Regions from separate parts of the Homo sapiens genome. Here region 1 is linked to region 2. Evidence: promoter capture Hi-C in human tissues and cell types (Jung and others, 2019). All regions are on one chromosome and are shown on one strand. The core of a region is centred on a gene start or on the middle of the fragment in contact, and the rest is flanking DNA. Distances in the headings are between cores, read along the strand shown.

Region 1 (4,814 bases), core at 1,033-3,532, 51 kb after region 2:
TCTATCCATCCATCCTCTTTCTATTCATCCATTCATCTATCCATCTATTCTATCTGTCCATCCATCTATACTATCTATCCGTCCATCCTATCTGTTTATCTATCATCTGTCTATCCATTCATCTAGCTTATCTATCTATTCATCCATCAATCTATCCATCCATCCATTCATCTGTTCTATCTATGTATCTATCTTATGTATCTATCCATTCATCTATCCCATCTTATCTATCCATCCCATCTTATCTATCCATCCGTCCATCCATCCATGTATCTACCTATCTACCTGTCTACCTACCTACCTACATATTCTATAGTTCTGCTCTCTGGATAACCCTGTTCTATACTGTGAGTATTTAATGAGTTAACATGTACATTGTTTAGGAAGTGCTAGTTAAGTATGTCTCTTATTTCTGAATCCAGCTACTTACTTTTATGACAATAAAAATGTAAATGCTGGTTGGCAAATGACCCACATGTTACAGGAGGACATAAAATAGCACGAAGTTTCCTCACCCTGGGCCAGGACTGTCACATTCCCCAGAGCAACACTGTAAACTGGTGTGTCCTCTTCTAGACATCTCCTCTGCGTGAATGTGTGCGCACACACACACACGTTAATGTGAGTGGCAGCTCGTGCCCTGCGCATGCCTTGCTACTTTCATGTACAGTGGCTGAGGCCTCTAGTGGAGGACGGACCTCAGCAGCCTCCCTGGCTCTGCCACCCAGCAGGGCCTGACTCAGCAACAGGCCTATCCTGGGCACTTCCCTTGTCCTGCTGTTTTGCCGTGACATAGGCTGCTAGGCTGCATGCTTGCACGGAGACCTTGCCCTCTGAGCCAGGCTGGCCGTCTGGAGGACAGATTCCCAGCCACTAGCCTGCTGGCTTCAGGCTGGCACATTTACAATGCAAATCTCTTCAAATCCCCTGCACAAAGCTTCTCTGGCCACTCACTGGCCGCGTCTCTGTGCTCCCTGCCTTCTAGATTTCTATTCAGATTCTCTCCAGCGTTCAGAATGATGGATCTTGTCAATCTGTGCCGGTCGTTGGGTGGAAATGGCACTGCAGGGCCTCCGTTCTGATTTCCTTCATCAGTAGGCATGGCAGGCATCTCTTTGGAAGTTAAGAGACCACATGTATGTGTATTTCCTTGAGCGGCCTGTCTGTCTTTAGGGAAGCTCGTTTTGCTTTGGTTGGTCCTTATGATTGTTGGGACTGTTTATACTGGGAACAGCCTGAAACCCAGCTCTCCTAGGCTTGCTCAGCAAGAGAAACGTGCTGGGTCACCGTTGCCCAAGTCCAGGCTTGAGGGGTTCAAGTGTACTAGGGCTTTGCTCCATTTCTCTGATCCTGACAGCTCTGCCCTTCTCCACTGCCAGCTTTGTCTGCAGGTGGAGGAGAACAGACAGTGGTTTCCCAGCACCACCTCATGGTCTTTCCAGGATGCACTGAGTGGCAGAAACCCCAGTAAGGGTCCAGAAGTATGGATGCTTCCATACTTCTTGCTGGTTGGCCCTTCCCTTAGTCAATCACTAGTGCCAGGGTAAATATCGGCCCTGATTGGATTAGGCTAGTCAGGGCCCGCCCCTGGTGGGAGGGTAGGTTGGTGGGAGGGTAGGTTGGTGGGAGGGGCAGGCTCAGAATCCCTGGTTGTAGGTGAAACAGCAGCTCTCGAAGGATGGGGCCTTGGGTCGCCTGTTGCAGATCTTTCTCCAGCTCTTACTTTCTGGCTGTGATGTTTCATGTGTGTCTTATGTATGTAGACGTTTAGAGGATTTGTTATCAATTTTGAGTCCTGCTAAGGAACTTCACGAATTCTTGAGCTCTTGGCTACGCCAACACTGAGTACTCAAAGGGAAAAAGGTCTGCGTGGTCCCTGCCCTCCAGATCTCAGAGGAGGAGAGGGCAGTGACGAAACCAGGTGCTGGAAACGGGCGTGGGGATGAAGTGTCCAGACAGGGGCGCAGCTGGGACTGGCTTGGGGCCTTGGAGAAGGGTCTGTGGGGATCAGGCAGAGGGAAGGTTCTGTACAGAAAAGCAGGCTTGGCCTGGCACCATCTGGAGTGTGTGTCAGGGAGAGGTGGGGTCGTCCAGACCCAGGATTGAAAACAGGGACTCCTTGAAGGGTGTTTTCGTCCATTTTCTGTTGCCATAAGAGTACCCGAGCCTGGGTAATTGAAAAAGAAAAGGCCGGGTGTGGTGGCTCAAGCCTGTAATCCCAGCACTTTGGGAGGCCGAGGTGGGCGGATCACGAGGTCAGGAGTTCAAGACCAGCCTGACCAACATGGTGAAACCCCGTCTCTACTAAAAATACAAAAAAAATTAGCTGGGTGTGGTGGCGCATGCCTGTAATCCCAGCTACTCCAGAGGCTGAGGCAGGAGAATCACTTGAACCCAGGAGGTGGAGGTTGCAGTGAGCCGAGATTGCACCACTGCACTCCAGCCTGGGTGACAGAGCGAGACTCCGTCTCAAAAAAGAAGAAAAAAGAAAAGAGGCCGGGTGGGGTGGCTCACACCTGTAATCCCAGCACTTTGAGAGGGCAAGACGGGTGGATCATGAGGTCAGGAGTTCAAGACCATCCTGGCCAAGATGCTGAAACCCCTGTCTCTACTAAAAACACAAAAATTAGCCGGGTGTGGTGGCATGCACCTGTAATCCCAGCTACTTGGGAGGCCGAGGCAGGAGAATTGCTTGAACCTGGGAGGCAGAGGTTGCAGTGAGCCAAGATTGTGCCTCTGCACTCCAGCCTGGGCGACAGAGCAAGACTCTGTCTCAAAAAAAATAATAAAATAAAATAAAAAAAGAAAAAGAAAAAAGAGGTTTATTTAGCTCACAGTTCTGCAGACTGAGAAGTTCAGGGCCTGGCCCTGATGTCTGGTGAGGGCTTTTGTGCCACATGGCAGAGTAGGCCGACGGGGATGCTGACAGCTGTGAAAGACTAAGCCTGATGGGACATCTTGACTTCATAACAACCCACCTGGCGGGTGCTAATCCATTCCCGAGGGGAGTAAACAAGCCTCTCAAGAGTAAACCCATGACCGCAAACGGCACCAAGCCATTCGTGAGGGATTTGCCCTCACGACCCACAGACCTCCCCGCAGCCCTGCCTCCCAGCACTGGCATACTGGGGATCAACATGAGTTTTGGTGGGGATGGACAAAGTGCGTCCACACCACAATGAAGGCTAGAGTGAGTGTGGGGCTGGCAGAGTGGGTGCTCCATGCTGTCTGCATGGCAGCTCTGCATGGGTGAGAATCTGGAGGCAGAGCAGCTGGGCGGGCAGATGCCTTAGTGCCAGGACAAGGGAAGCAGTTTGAGACCCCTGGGCCGCCACTGGGAGAATGCCCACCCTGGGGAAGACAGGAGGAATGTCTACAGTAGGGGAGGAAAGCGTAACAGGCTCTGTTTTAGAGGTGCCCGAGGTGCGCTGACATCCTAGTACAGAGTCAGGTGAATCCACTCGTGGACATTGGGAGGAAGAGGCTGGATGCTAGGACGGCACAGTCTTTCTGTCTGATTCACCCCTTGTTGTGCTGAAACTGGGGTCCCTGGTTCCCTCCTACCCACCTGGAGCAGAACCCCTACCCTGCTCATGTTAGCAGGCCCAATGCAGGACCTCGGAGGGAGAACAGGGTGAATCTCTCCATGCACTCGTGGGGAGGATTTCTGTTTTTCCTTCCTAACACTCGCTTCTCTCTGAGATCTGACCCTTCCTTCATCTGCCGTTACAGATTCTGAGAACAATAACTCCACAATGGCGTCGGCCTCGGAGGGTGAAATGGAGTGTGGGCAGGAGCTGAAGGAGGAAGGGGGCCCGTGCTTGTTCCCGGGCTCAGACAGTTGGCAAGAAAACCCCGAGGAGCCCTGTTCCAAAGCCTCCTGGACCGTCCAAGAAGTGAGTGCACTGCCTCGGCTCCCCTCCGCCCCCGCTCACTCTGCCCAGGAAAATCTCACTGCACAGCTGCCCAGCTAGCCCCCGAAAATGCCACCATGGCCCAGCCCATTGAACCTGCCCACAGGGCAGCAGCAGAGCTGCCCCTTCTGCACCTGATTCATCTCTGGCTGGAGTCTGTGGGTTCCAGACCCCCTGGGGCCTCCACCGTCTTTTTTTTTTTTTTTTTTTTTTTGAGACAGAGTTTCGCTCTTGTTGCCCAGGCTGGAGTGCAGTGGTGCGATCTCGGCTCGCTGCAGCCTCCACCTCCTGGTTTCAAGCAATTCTCCTGCCTCAGCCTCCCAAGTAGCTGGGACTACAGGCATGCACCACCACGACCAGCTAATTTTTTTGTATTTAGTAGAGACGGGGTTTCACCATGTTGGTCAGGTTGGTCTCAAACTCCTGACCTCAGGAGATCCACCCACCTCGGCCTCCCAAAGTGCTGGGATTACAGGTGTGAGCCACCGCGCCCGGCCTCCACCTTCCTTTTCTTTCTACCAGACCCAATACTCGTGTGTCTCCCAGAAGCTGTGGCTGGGGTGGGGCCTGAGCTTCTGCCGTGTGTATCTGTGTCCCAAGCTTCTGTGGGTCTCTTTGCATTGAGGGTGCAAGCTCAGAGGTGCCTTGCTGCTTCGGGGCAGGGACCTGAGCGTCCGCTGGGTGCGTGTCTTGCGCTTCTGTAGGCCTCTGCATTGAGGGTGCGTGCCCAGAGGGGCTTTGAAGCTTTGGGTGTGGGGTGGGTGCTCTGGAAATGTGCTGGCTGGCAGGTTACCCTTCTTGGAAGGGTATGGCTGAGCCACCTTTTGGCTCCCTCTGGCCTTGAACAGCCTCTTAGGCGTTAGACACCAAGAGAATGCGTCCTTGTTAAGATTCCCAGTT
Region 2 (4,776 bases), core at 673-3,172:
CACCAAGCTTCTTCCCCCTGCTCTGGAGTAGAGGACACTGGGGGCACCACAGGAGAGGCTGGTGGGAACCCCCAGACCAACACTTTCCCCAGCTCCCTCAGAGGCAATGTGGTCCATGGATGGACAGAGGAGGCTGGGCACCTTCCAGTTGGGCTTCCATCCTCCACCCCACAGTACCCACAGGTGTGAGCACATGGCAGCCACGTAAACCTGGAGGGAGAGCGGGATGGGCTGTGCTCCGTACCCGCAGGCCAGGAAGAAAGCTGCCCTTCTCCAAACCCAGAGTGTCTCGGCACTTGGCTGTGGGCCTGCTATGGTCTGAACTGTGTCCTCCCAGAATTCATATGCTGAAGCCCTAACGTCAACATCACTGTATCTGGAGACAGGGTCCTTAATTAAGGGTAAATGAATCATAAGGATGAGATCCTGATCTGACAGGACTGTGGACTTAAAGGAAAAGAAAGAGAGGGCCGGGTGCAGTGTTTCATGCCCGTAAGCCCAGCACCCGGGAGGCCAAGGCAGGAAGATTGCTTGAGCCCAGGAGTTCGAGACCAGTCTGGGCAACACAGTGAGACCTTGTCTCTACAAAAAATACAAAAATTAGCCAGGCATGGTGATGTGCACTTGAGGTCCCAGCTACTTGGGAGGCTGAGGCAGGAGGATCGCTTGAGCCTGGGAGATTGAGGCTGCAGTGAGCTGTGATTGTGCTACTGTGCTCCAGCCTGGGTGACAGAGTGAGACCCTGTCTCACAAAAAAAAAAAAAAAAAAAAAAAAAGGAAAGAAAGGAAAAAGAAAGGAAAAGGAAGTGAGACCACCCCCATCCGCTTGTCATGTGAGGAAACAGTGAGAGGGTGACCACCTGTAAGCCGAAAGTGGACCCTCACTGGAACCCAACCAAGCTGGCACCCTGACCTTGGATTTTCAGCCCACAGAACTGTGAGAAATACATTTCTGTTTAAGCCGATCCATGGCAGTCCGTGCTAAGAAAGGCCCTAGCCCAGGGGCCGCATAGCCTGGACTCTGACAGCCTCCTGTAGGAATTCTGATCCGCAGGTGAGGGTCCATGCAGATTCTCTGCTGTGTTTCTGGGAGGCGAGGAGTTGGCAGGAGAGCTGTTTATGTTACAGTGAGCCGAACCCCCGCCCAGAGACCACAAAATTAATCAGAAAGAGGGCAACTGGCAGGGCGCCAGACCTCAGAAGGGGAAAGAATCGCAGGCCTTGGGTTTGGCCTTGTCACTTGTCATGAGCCAGAGCCTTGATTACCTAAACCGGAAGTCTTGTGAGCAGCACGGTGCTTGCTCTGGAGGAACCTGGGGTTTCTGAGAGGGACTGGGGTTGGGGGAGACGGTGGTGGGTGGGTGGTGGAGGGCTGTGCCCTTGGGATAAGGGAAAAGACAGCTGAGACACAGGCTCTGGGGTCGGAAATGAGAGCCAGGAGGGCACCCTGTCTGCAGTCTCTGGGGACCGGAGCACCAGCCCCTCCTCTGGGATCCCCTCCCAAGAGGGATTTGAGATCCGTGGACCCCTGAGCCCTGGCTGGGCAGGGTCAGAGGAGGGTGGGACAGGCGGCACGAGGTAAGTGTAGGGGTGCTGGATGCTGGGGCTCACTCCTCCAGCCTTTGCTGCCCTCTCTGGGGAGACACCCGTGAAGAGTCTGGGGGCGGCACAGAGAGGAGGACGAGAGGGAATGGCAGCGGGGGATACAAGGGCAGGGCACACTAGGGTCAGCATTGACCACGGGTGGGGAGGAGGCCAGTGGCCACTTCCCCGGGCCACCGCAGGTGGGCGTGGGGGGGCGGCGCCGGCACTCACCGAGGAGCAGCAGTGCGTTCCGGGGACGCGCCCGGCAGAGCCCCAGGACTAGCAGCAGCGCGCAGCAGGCGGGCACGGGGCAGCTCATGGCGGCGGCGGCTCGGACTCGGGATCGGGATCCGGCTCCGGCTCTCTGGTCTCCCGCTCGGCCCCGCCCCCTGCCCCGACCCCGGTCACGTGCGCGCCAGACCCCGCCCCGGCCTGTCCCCGGCGATTCCTGCGGACCCAGCTGCGGCGACGCCAGGAGACCCCAAGCTGCATCGCCGAGTGGGTGAGTCCGTGGCCCGCGAGGGCGGCGAGCGGGGACCAGGGGCAGGGGGAGCGGACAGTGGCCGGGGTCGCCGGGGGCAGCCGACGCGGGGGCCAGCGCGGAGTCCTGAAGTGCGGGGGCCTCCCGTGGGGACCACTCCCCCGCCGCGTCCCTACCCGGGTCCCCGCGGCCCTCGGCCTTGCTCGGGGCCAAGGGACCGCGGACGGTCAGGTGGCGCAGGGTCTCCTCCGGAGACCCCAGGATCCGGAGCCAGCGGCCTTGTGGGCGGGGCCGGGGGCCGGGGAGTGGATTTTGCCCGGAGCGGAGCGGCCGGGGGCGTGGGGGGCTGGGGGTGAGGGTGGCGGCTCTGCGCGCGGGCGCCGGGGCCCTGGAAGATGCTGCGCACCTGAATTAACCGGGCGCCTCTGATGTCCTCCCAGAAGCAACTAGAACTCCAGGGCTGTGAAAGCCACAGGTGGGGGCTGAGCGAGGCGTGGCCTCAGGAGCGGAGGACCCCCCCACTCTCCCTCGAGCGCCGCAGTCCACCGTAGCGGGTGGAGCCCGCCTTGGTGCGCAGTTGGAAAACCTCGGAGCCCCGCTGGATCTCCTGGCTGCCACCCGCACCCCCCGCCAGCCTACGGTGCGCCCGCGGGCCCAGCTTCTCTCTGCGCTGCTCCCCGTTAAATTCCCTGGGGAGACGGAAAAAAAGGCAAAGGAAGTCGGTTCTCCAGGGGCCAGAAGTGTTGAGCCTAATTAGTCTTCAGACTTCTCAATGAGGAATCGCTTATCAGTTTCTTATCTGGGAGAGTTGAGGATGGAGGGACAGAAGGCACCCAGGATTTGCACGGGGGGGATTCAGGGAGAGAGGGTGATGAGGGACGGGGTGGGCCTTCCAGTCTTGGCCCAGTCCCCATCTTGCACACATTGTTGGCTTCCTCTTAGAGCCGTTCGCCCCCCTGGGGAGGGGAGACCCATAGTGACCTCTCCTGACACCCGCCGACCCTGACCAGTGTTGCCGGGTTCTTCAAAGGCCACGCTCTGACTGCTGGTCTGTGTCACCTGCACCCCCCAGCCCCACCGTAGAGATGCCTTCTTCGGTGACGGCGCTGGGTCAGGCCAGGTCCTCTGGCCCCGGGATGGCCCCGAGCGCCTGCTGCTGCTCCCCTGCGGCCCTGCAGAGGAGGCTGCCCATCCTGGCGTGGCTGCCCAGCTACTCCCTGCAGTGGCTGAAGATGGATTTCGTCGCCGGCCTCTCAGTTGGCCTCACTGCCATTCCCCAGGCGCTGGCCTATGCTGAAGTGGCTGGACTCCCGCCCCAGGTGAGGCGTCTGACCCTGCTGCCAGCCATATCTCAGAAACAGTGCAGAATACACAGTATCAATCCCAGACACCATCAGCGATTCCAGGTTTCCAGCCCCTGGGCCCCAAGGAACCTTTGGTTTACAGTGTGTGACGCAGATTGTCTCTGGGCCGACCCAGGCTCCTATGCCTGTTTGGCACACACAGACACTGAGCTGGTTATGGAGGGGCCAGCGAGATGACTCATGGAGGCCTCAGGAGTTCAAGACCAGCCCGACCAAAATGGTGAAACCCCGTCTCCACTAAAAATACAAAAATTAGGCTGGGTGCGGTGGCTCAAGCCTGTAATCCCAGCACTTTGGGAGGCCGAGGCAGGCGGATCGCAAGGTCAGGAGATGGAGACCATCCTGGCTAACAGGGTGAAACCCCGTCTCTACTAAAAATACAAAAAATTAGCCAGGTGTGGTGGCGGGTGCCTGTAGTCCCAGCTACCTGGGAGGCTGAGGCAGGAGAATGGCGTGAACCCGGGAGGCGGAGCTTGCAGTGAGCCGAGACTGTGCCACTGCCCTCCAGCCTGGGCGACAGAGCGAGACTCCATCTCAAAAAAAAAAAAAAAGAATGCTTCCTCAGACTTGGACACAGCACACGGGCCTGCACCGACCCCTCTGCCTGGCTGTCTGCACCCTGAGGCCCCAGTTGAGTGCTGCTAAAAAAGTGGCCTCCTGATCACTGCAGGTCCACCCACAGGGCAGGGCGGTGCACCTTTAACCTGGGCCTGGACACAGCTGACACCCACACATCCCGAGCTTGGACACGCACACTAGGGAGCTGGTGGATGGGCCTCGGCCTCCTGAGTGCTCACCACCCTCTCTCCCCACAGTATGGCCTCTACTCTGCCTTCATGGGCTGCTTCGTGTATTTCTTCCTGGGCACCTCCCGGGATGTGACTCTGGGCCCCACCGCCATTATGTCCCTCCTGGTCTCCTTCTACACCTTCCATGAGCCCGCCTACGCTGTGCTGCTGGCCTTCCTGTCCGGCTGCATCCAGCTGGCCATGGGGGTCCTGCGTTTGGGTGAGGCTCTACCTTCTTGCCAAGGGGATGCCCTCGACCTCAGCATTTGCTTGTTTGCATTTCAAGTCTATCCCCGTGTGCGTGTGTGTGCGTGTTGGGGTGTGGGTATGTATGTGTGTGTGTGTAGGTGGGTGGGTGGTGGAGGGGGTGGGGCACTTGGCTCTTAGTCTACTCTTTTCTGCTTAGAGGCCAGGACACTTGGAGAAGTGCCTGTGGCCTCAGACCCCAGTCTCCCTTTTCTGCTCTCCAAAAACAGCCAAACAGGGTGTGTTACCCCCAGTCCTTAGCTGCGGTATCTGCTCCCCAATCCCACCCATTGCCACCTTCCCCAGCTCACAT

Evidence for each region. The method cuts DNA at HindIII sites, captures the fragments that hold promoters and counts their contacts. A contact is called where the count stands out against the background at its distance.
Region 1: a fragment that was not itself captured here is called in contact with the fragment with the promoter of SGSH in region 2 in 1 of the 25 tissues and cell types used here (H1 embryonic stem cells).

The regions. Positions count from the first base shown.
Region 1 is chr17:80,269,509-80,274,322 of GRCh38, forward strand. It overlaps RNF213 (ring finger protein 213), which reads left to right. Exons shown (of 68, transcript NM_001256071.3): 3 at 3,733-3,896. Among named protein-coding and RNA genes, the nearest start is that of RNF213, 11 kb to the left of the region's middle. RefSeq lists a silencer at 1,591-1,640 and an enhancer at 4,530-4,814. The HindIII fragment of the contact is 4,608 bases long and covers 1-4,586 here.
Region 2 is chr17:80,218,411-80,223,186 of GRCh38, forward strand. SGSH (N-sulfoglucosamine sulfohydrolase) reads right to left here and starts at 1,923. Exons shown (of 8, transcript NM_000199.5): 1 at 1,816-1,923. The coding sequence starts at 1,903. It overlaps SLC26A11 (solute carrier family 26 member 11), which reads left to right and starts at 2,017. Exons shown (of 18, transcript NM_001166347.2): 1 at 2,017-2,086; 2 at 2,506-2,705; 3 at 3,138-3,384; 4 at 4,245-4,437. The coding sequence starts at 3,151. RefSeq lists enhancers at 965-1,084, 3,742-4,579, 4,580-4,776 and silencers at 1,885-2,154, 2,175-2,244. The HindIII fragment of the contact is 8,333 bases long and covers 1-4,776 here.